Regions from separate parts of the Homo sapiens genome. Here region 1 is linked to region 2. The links are contacts of gene promoters, found by promoter capture Hi-C in human tissues and cell types (Jung and others, 2019). All regions are on one chromosome and are shown on one strand. The core of a region is centred on a gene start or on the middle of the fragment in contact, and the rest is flanking DNA. Distances in the headings are between cores, read along the strand shown.

What was found. The method cuts DNA at HindIII sites, captures the fragments that hold promoters and counts their contacts. A contact is called where the count stands out against the background at its distance.
Region 1: the fragment with the promoter of ERVV-2 here is called in contact with a fragment that was not itself captured in region 2 in 3 of the 25 tissues and cell types used here (dorsolateral prefrontal cortex, mesenchymal stem cells and stomach).

The regions. Positions count from the first base shown.
Region 1 is chr19:53,042,688-53,047,011 of GRCh38, reverse strand. It overlaps ERVV-2 (endogenous retrovirus group V member 2, envelope), which reads right to left and starts at 2,272. Exons shown (of 2, transcript NM_001191055.2): 1 at 2,054-2,272. The HindIII fragment of the contact is 12,011 bases long and covers 1-4,324 here.
Region 2 is chr19:53,378,440-53,382,887 of GRCh38, reverse strand. It overlaps ZNF525 (zinc finger protein 525), which reads right to left. Exons shown (of 4, transcript NM_001348156.2): 4 at 1-2,166. The coding sequence ends at 869. Among named protein-coding and RNA genes, the nearest start is that of ZNF765, 14 kb to the left of the region's middle. The HindIII fragment of the contact is 5,110 bases long and covers 1-4,448 here.

The sequences.
Region 1 (4,324 bases), core at 1,023-3,522, 340 kb after region 2:
AATTTTTTAGTAGAGACAGGGTTCCACCATATTGGCCAGGCTGGTCTCAAACTCCCGACCTCGTGATCTGCCCGCCTCAGCCTCCCAAAGTGCTGGGATTATAGGCATCAGCCACCGTGCCCAGCCGATACGGGGTTTCTCCATGTTGATCAGGCTGGTCTCGAACTCACAACCTCGGGTGACACGCCCGCCTTGGCCTCCGAAAGTGCTGGGATTACAAACGTGAGCCAATGCGCCCAGCCTAGGTCTTCTTAATACATAATGATATTGGGCTAATACTAATGATTACAGGAACGGAAAAGATGTGATATCTTCCCCCACTCTTAAAAGGTTCCTTGGGGTTTATACAGAAAAAAATGCTTGAAAAGCATAGAAGACCCCCTGGGGCTCAGAGTTAGTGAACTGGGCTGTTGATTCTGGTTTTTTAGTCCATTATATGATCACATAAACAGCAAGGGGAATGTGAGAAGCATTTTCTATCAGCTTATTCAACAAAAAGCAAAAAGGACCTGAGTACTTCACGGGTCTGTTACAATGGCCTAATGAGGTGGAGAAAGCAGTCTCCTGTGGCCCATTGGAAACCCTGGTTGTACAGAGAAACTAGGGAGTAAGGAAGTGGTCACAGGTGACCCTCTGGAAGAGCCAGGCAGTTCCATTGAGGAGTCACAGAATGAGGCATTCTTGAAGAGTAGGCAGGCGGAGAAGGACCCAATAATAAGTGAGGGATTTCTTTCTTTCTTTTTTTTTTTCAGACAGAGTTTCGCTCTTGTTGCCCAGGCTGGAGTGCAATGGTGCGATCTCGGCCCACTGCAATGGCCAGCTCCCGGGTTCAAGCGATTCTCCTGCCTCAGCCTCCCAAGTAGCTGGGATTACAAGCGTGTGCCACCACGCCCGGCTAATTTTTGTATATTTAGTAGAGATGGGGTTTCACCATGTTGGCCAGGCTGGTCTTGAACTCCTGCCCTCAGGTGATCCACCCCCCTCAACCTCTCAGAGTGCTGAGATTACAGGCATGAGCCACCGTGCCCGGCCAAAATGAGGGATTTCTTTAAGCAGGCATCCTCCCAGTGCCGGTCCCTCCAGTGAAACAGGAGGCAAGGGAAAGGACAAAGCTGAGTCTCATTTCTGAGGAAAAAAGTATAAACATCAGCATAGGCCCTCAAAGGACTCTGGCGCCTGAGTGAAGCAAACGCAGCAGGTCCTGGATAAACAGGCCCTGCAAGAGGCTTGCACCCGCAGGAAGAATTCATGAAATCCCTGCGGCGAGGAGAGGGACAGCAAAGAGTAAGCAGAGTGACCTGGGAGATTAATCAACGGTGGGGGCATATGGTGTTCAGGGGAGTGAACGGCCATGAATGGCAAGTATAAGAGCTGACTTAACACCGGATTGTAGTTTTAATTAAAAGATATGCGCCGGTCGCAGTGGCTCACGCCCGTAATCCCAGCAGTTTGGGAGGCCGAGGTGGGCGGATCACGAGGTCAGGAGTTCGAGACCAGCCTGGCCAATATGGTGAAACTCTGTCTCTACTAAAAATACAAAAATTAGCCGGGCATGGTGGCACACGCCTGTAGTCCCTGCTACTCGGGAGGCTGAGGCAGAAGAATCGCTTGAACCCGGGAGGTGGAGGTTGCAGTGAGCCGAGATCACACCACTGCGCTCCAGCCTGGGCGACAGAGTGAGACTCTGTCCTCCCCCCCACAAAAAAAAATATGAAGCTCCCCAGTCACTGCACAGCCAGGCGTATTCCCTGCCACCTTCACAAGCCTCCTGCAAGAAGGGTCACCATGTGTCTCAGATCTACTCACTGTGGAGTTTAAATCCTCCCTCCTCTGCTTATCACCCCTCAGGGTGAGCTGAGAAATCAGCCAGAGGGAGCAGAGTGACAGTGGCTGAAGGGAAATGGTACTGGGCAGTCGTTAGTGAACAGAGCCTGAGAGGAAAAACCCCTCCCCTTAAAGCTGCCAGATCTGCATTAGGGCAGGAGGTTCTTCAGTGCAGAAAGAAGCAGAGGTCGTCAACCAGAGAATCTGGCACCAGCTTTTTGGTACTTACCTGGATAACCAGGCGAGGTAACCAGGTAACCAGGTGAAAACACCAGATGTTACCCAGAGGGGTGTGGAAGTCCTCTGGTTCTTGGTCTTCTTGGATTCAGTCAAGAGATGCGCAGAAAGAGTTAAAGGGTAAATGCCCTTCATTTAAAGAGACAGGAGCTCAGAAAGAAGCGACACCCTGAACGACAGAACCGAGTGGGCTCCTGAAAAGAAGGAGTCTGTCCTTACTTATGCTGGCCTGACCCTTTTAATGAGAACCTGACATGATTATTCATGAAGGGGCCGTGCACAGCCATTATTAGTAAGCATGTTCTGGGAAGTCATTTGGGCAGGAATGTGCTGTGACTGTCCATGCACACATCACATATCTCCTTAGCATCTCAAATCTCCACCCAGGGGTGTGGCTTTTTTTTTTTTTTTTTTGAGACGGAGTCTCACTCTGTCGCCCAGGCTGGAGTGCGGTGGCGCTATCTCGGCTCACTGCAAGCTCCGCCTCCCGGGTTCACGCCATTCTCCTGCCTCAGCCTCCTGAGTAGCTGGGACCACAGGTGCCTGCCACCACGCCCAGCTAATTTTTTTTTTGTATTTTTAGTAGAGACGGGATTTCACCGTGTTAGCCAGGATGGTCTGGATCTCCTGACCTCGTGATCCACCTGCCTCGGCCTCCCAAAGTGCTGGGATTACAGGCATGAGCCACCGCACCCAGCCCTTATTTATTTTTTTCTAAAATCATATTTGAAAAAAGGGGATGTGTTTCTTAGTATTATAATGAGCAAAAGGCCATTCTAGGATGAATTATTAGAGGAGTGTGCACGCTCCTTAATAGGGAAAATCCCCTAGCTGGGTTATTTCTGGCTAGGGCCAGATAACTCCCTTCCTGGGCCAGACAAGTCCAGCCACAAGGACAGGTGTAGGCAATGTAGCCACTGTCCTGCTTTTGCTGTCAAAAGGGGATTGTCAGTGGGCTGTGTTTCTTAAGATTCCTTTCCCAGGGGCTCCTTTAACTGCTCATGCCTGGCTACCTACCTACTCCAAGCTGGTTTGTGGACAGAAATACTTTATTTATTTATTTTTTGTAAAGGTGTCTCACTCTGTCACCCAGGCTGGAGTGCAGTGGCGTGATCTCGGCTCACTGCAACCTCCAGCTCCCTGGTTCAAGCGATTCTCCTGCCTCACCCTCCCGAGTAGCTGGGATTATAGCCACATGCCACCACGCCCAGCTAGTTTTTGTATTTTTAGTAGAGATGGGGTTTCACCACTTTGGCCAGGATGGCCTTGATCTCCTGACCTCATGATCTGCCTGCCTCAGCCTCCTAAAGTGATGGGATTACAGGCATGAGCCACTGAGCCTGGCGCTAGAAAGACTTTTAAAGTAGTATCTAGTTCATCCACATTTGTATGTTTCTTCTATTCAATCTGAATGCAAATTTACCTGAAGGTTTTCCCCTGAGATCACAGAGAACAACTTTCTTCACCTTAATTTTATTTTCAGCTGGGCATGGTGGTGCACACCTGTAATCCCAACACACTGGGAGGCTGACACAGGCGGATCACTTGAGTTCAGAAGTTTGGGACCAGCCTGGGCAACGTGACAAAACCCTATGTCTACAAAAAATACAAAAAAATTAGCTGGGCATAGTGTCGTGACCCTCTAGTCCCAGCTATTGAGGAGGCTGAGCTGGGAGGATGGCTTGAGCCCAGGAGGTGGAGGGTACAGTGAGCTGTGATCATGCCACTGCACTCCAGCCTAGGGGACAGAGTGAGACCCTGTCTCAAAAACAAACAAAAAACAAAAAAACCCAATCAACATAAGTTTATTCTCATTAGGTTATTTCTCTGATCACAAGAGAAAATGTCTCTGAATTACCTTCCTTTGTCAGGGCTCAGCTGGTACCAAAAAGGATGTCAAGAAAATTTAGATTGAGGTCGGGCGCATGCCTGTAATCCCAGCACTTTGGGAGGCCAATGTGGGTGGATCACGAGGTCAGGAGATCGAGACCATCCTGGCTAACACGGTGAAACCCTGTCTCTACTAAATATACAAAAAATTAGCCGGGCGAGGTGGCAGGCGCCTGTAGTCCCAGCTACTCGGGAGGCTGAGGCAGGAGAATGGCGTGAACCTGGGAGGCGGAGCTTGCAGTGAGCCGAGATCGCGCCACTGCACTCCAGCCTGGGCAATGCAGCAAGACTCTGTCTCAAAAAAAAAAAAAAGAAAATTTAGATTAATATGAGAATGTGACATGGATCTGACATATAAATTAGTGTTTTTATT
Region 2 (4,448 bases), core at 755-3,254:
CTAGTATGAATTCTCCTATGACTTTCAAGGTTTGATTTGAATCTGAAAGCTTTATCACATTCTTCACATTTGTAAGGTTTCTCTCCAGCATGAGTTCGCCCGTGAACTGCAAGGTATGAACGATGTCTGAAAAATTTGTCACATTTATCACACTTGTAAGGTCTCTCTTTATTATGGATTCTCCAATGATTTGCAATAGTTGTAGCATTACTGAAGACGTGGTGACAATCATTACATTTGTAAAGTTTCCCTCTGCCATGGATTGCTTGATGGTAAATAAGCGCTGACTGCCTATGAAAGGTTTTGCCACACTCATTGCACTTCTAAGGTTTCTCTCCAGTATGACGTCTATGATGGCATGTGTTAACTCCTTACTGAAGGTCTTGCCACACTCATTACACTTATAAGATTTATTTCCAGTATGAAGTCTATGATGGCGTGTAAGGCATGACTTCTGACTGAAGGTCTTGCCACACTCATTACACTTGTACGGTTTCTCTCCATTATGAATTCTCCTATGTCTTTCAAGATTTGATTTGTATCTGAAAGTTTCATCACATTCTTCACATTTGTAAGGTTTCTCTCCAGTATGAAGTCTATGATGGCATGTAAGGGATGATGTATGACTGAAGGTCTTGCCACACCTATTACACCTGTAAGGTTTCTCACCAGTGTGAATTCTCCTATGTCTTTCAAGGTTTGATTTGAAACTGAAAGCTTCATCACATTCTTCACATTTGTAAGGTTTCTCTCCACTATGAAATTTATGATGGTATACAATGGATGACGTATGACTGAAGATCTTGCCACAATCATTACACTTATAACATTTCTCTCCAGTATGAATTTTCTGACGTATTTCAAGATTTTATTTGAAACTGTAAGCCTTGTCACATTCTCCACACTTGCAAGGTTTCTCTCCACTATGAAGTCTACAATGGCAGGTAAGGGATAACTCCTGACTGAAGGTCTTGCCACACTCATTACATTTGTACAGTTTCTCTCCATTATGAATTCTCCTATGTCTTTCAAGACTTGATTTGAAACGGAAAGCTTCATCACATTCTTCACACTTGTAAGGTTTCTCTCCAGTATGAAGTCTACGATGGCATGTAAGGGTTGACATATGACTGAAGGTCTTGCCACAATCATTACACTTGTATGGTTTCTCTCCAGTATGAGTTATCCTATGACTTTCAAGGTTTGATTTGAAACTGAAAGCTTTGTCACATTCTTCACATTCGTAAGGTTTCTTTCCAGTATGAATGCTACGATGGCATGCAAGGTATGACTTCTGACTAAAGGTCTTGCCACACTCATTACACTTATGTGGTTTCTCTCCAGTATGAATTCTCCTATGTCTTTGAAGGGCTGAATTGTGTCTGAAAGCTTTGTCACATTCTTCACATTTGTAAGGTTTCTCTCCAGTATGAAGTCGATGATGATATGTAAGGGATGACATCTGACTGAAGGACTTGCCACACTCATTACACTTGTAAGGTTTCTCACCAGTGTGACATCTACGATGGCGTGCAAGGTATCGCTTCCGAATAAAGACCTTGTCACATACATCACATTTATATTGTTTCTCTCCTAGATGAATAATCTGATGTTTCCTTAAGAGTGAGCTATAATTAAAGGCTTTGCCACTCTCAATACATTGGAAAGATTTTTCTCTCATGCGTACTTCCTGTCTTTGTGTGAGTAATGAATAATTCAGAAAATTATCCCCATAGTTATTAGATATATGGGTTTTGGGCCTACAAGAAATTCTTTGGGCTGTTGAAACCGAGGAAGCATCGTTGATAGACTTCTCCACTTGATTATTAATTTTCCCTTTGGGCTGAAATATGTGGAGTTCAGACAGATGTGAATGAAAGCTTGATCCAAGCTGATATTTAATAGGCTTGTTTCCAGCATGCCTGTGATCATATTGCTCTGTACTACCCATCAATTTTTTGATTTTTGTCATGGGTGCTTCATGGCCATTTCTTTCATCTTCTTGCCACTGAAACTCAAAGTTATGAATATCTTTCTCAATTTCCTGGAAGGAAAAATCTCCAATGTGATGACGTTCATGTCTTTGCAATGTCCCTGTGTGGATCACTTCTGTATTGCCTTGTGCTGTTGATGAGAACTCCTTCATTGTGCATTTGGAAGAGATACCTACAAAATATAAACACTAATAGGTACACAAAAGACAATACTGATTTTAAACTTCCCAAACATGATCTTCAAAGTTTAGGAACACAAAATCGTAAGATTCTTTAATAAATAAAGGGCGATTACATGTGCTTCAAATTATTATTATGAAAGCTTATTTCCAATATCATGACAAAACACTGAAGGGCACAAACATGTGTAAGCCTAAAATAAGGAGTATTTTTCCACTGTGACCCTAAAGTGTCTAACAGTTTGCAAAAGACATATCACTGTCACATCAATGAAAAGTATATATTCTTCATATTTACAGCATACTTACTGTATACAAATAAATACTAAAGGACCACACAATATAATATACTGGTAAATAATCCACAGCAAGCTCATGTAAGGATAACCAAAATCAATGGAAATTCTGTATTGTTAAATAATCATAGCACTGAGAAGATAAGAAAAGTTTACAAAATTTAGCAAGGCATGGTGGTGCACGTCTGTACTCCCAGCTACTCGCAAGGGTGAGGTACAAGAATTGCTTGAACCCAAGAGGCAGAGGTTGCAGTGAGCCGAGATCGCACCACTGTACTTCAGCCTGGATGACAAAGTGAGACTCCATCTCAAAAAAAAAAAAATATTTTTCTGAATAACTGTCATAAAATTACCTATATCCATGCAGAAAAGGCATATTGTAACATTTAAAATTTTTTTTTTATTTTTGTATTTTTGAGACAATGTTTCACTGTGTCACAACAGGCTGGAGGGCAATGGCCTGATCTCAGCTCACTGCAACCTCCACCTTTTGGGTTCAAGCCATTCTCCTGCCTCAGCCTCCTGAGTACATGGGATTACAGGCACATGCCAGCATGCTTGGCTAATTTTTGTATTTTTAGTAGAGATAGGGTTACATCATATTGGCCAGGCTGGCCTTGAACTTTTGACCTCAAGTGATCCACCCGCCTCAGCCTCCCAAAGTCCTGGGATTGCAGGCGTGAGCCACAGCACCCGCTGGCACTTTGTGACATTAACTAGTAAACTGTGTCAGTTATATTGCATACCACATACCGAAAAGCTTTATGTAAAATCATAAAAATGAATTGGTAAAATAACTGTAACGCATAAAACCAGCAAGCAAATCATAAGTACATTTATACAAACTGCAGAATTCTAAACAATTCCCTGTTAAGAAAAAAGCACAACTTCTACTTACCACCAGCACACAATATAAGAACTGAAATACATGTTAAGATCACTACCTTCTGATGTATGAGGTCAAAAAAATATGCAGCATTATAATGAATAAGAATTCACTAACAGCCGGGTGCAGTGGCTCATGCCTGTAATTCCAGCACTTTGGGAGGCCGAGGTGGGAAGACCATGAGGTCAGGAGTTCAAGAATAGCCTGGCCAACGTGGTGAAACCATAACTCTACTAAAAATACAAAAAAATTAGCTGGGTGTGGTGGCGGGTGCCTGTAATCTCAGCTACTCAGAAGGCTGAGGCAAGAGAATCGTTTGAACCCAGGAGGTAGAGTTTGTGGTGAGCCAAGGTCCCACCACTGCACTCCAGCTTGAGTGACAGGGTGAGACTTCGTCTCTAAGAAAAAAAAAAAGAATTGACTAATAGTGCCGGAGGGTGCAATTATGATGTCACAACTACATTTATGAAACAGCCAGGCAATACAGCAATTCTATATATATATATACATTGCCCTATGTATCTAGTTCACTATGCATAAAATATAAAACATAGAATGTGTACTGGGAAAATTTATAAACTGAGATCAGAGAAAACATTGTATGAAACAAATTAAACAATAAAAACATAAATAAGATGATGCAGGCTCCCTGGTCTGAATGTTTGTATTGGCCAAACGCCATGTTCAGAGTTCTTATTCTCCAATAGGATGTTCCTGCAGATGGGGCCTTTGAGACAATTTGGTCACGGGTGTTGACTACTCGTGAATAGGACTTGTGCTTTCATAAAAAGAGACATTAAAGAGCTCGTTGCCTGTTCCTGTTTCCACCATGTCAGGACATGGCAGGAAGATGGCTGGGCTAAACCATGAGGAAGGCTCTCACCAGGAACCAATGTGGCTGGCACCTTGCTCTTGGATTTCCCACTTTCCAAACTCATGAGAAATAAATTTCTGTGTCTTAAGCCTCCCAGTTTAAGCTATTTCTTTTTTTGTTTGTTTTTGAGACCGAGTCACGCTCTATCACCCAGGCTGGAGTGTAGTGGCACGATTCTCCTGCCTCAAGAGATTCTCCCGCCTCAGCCTGTAGTCTCAC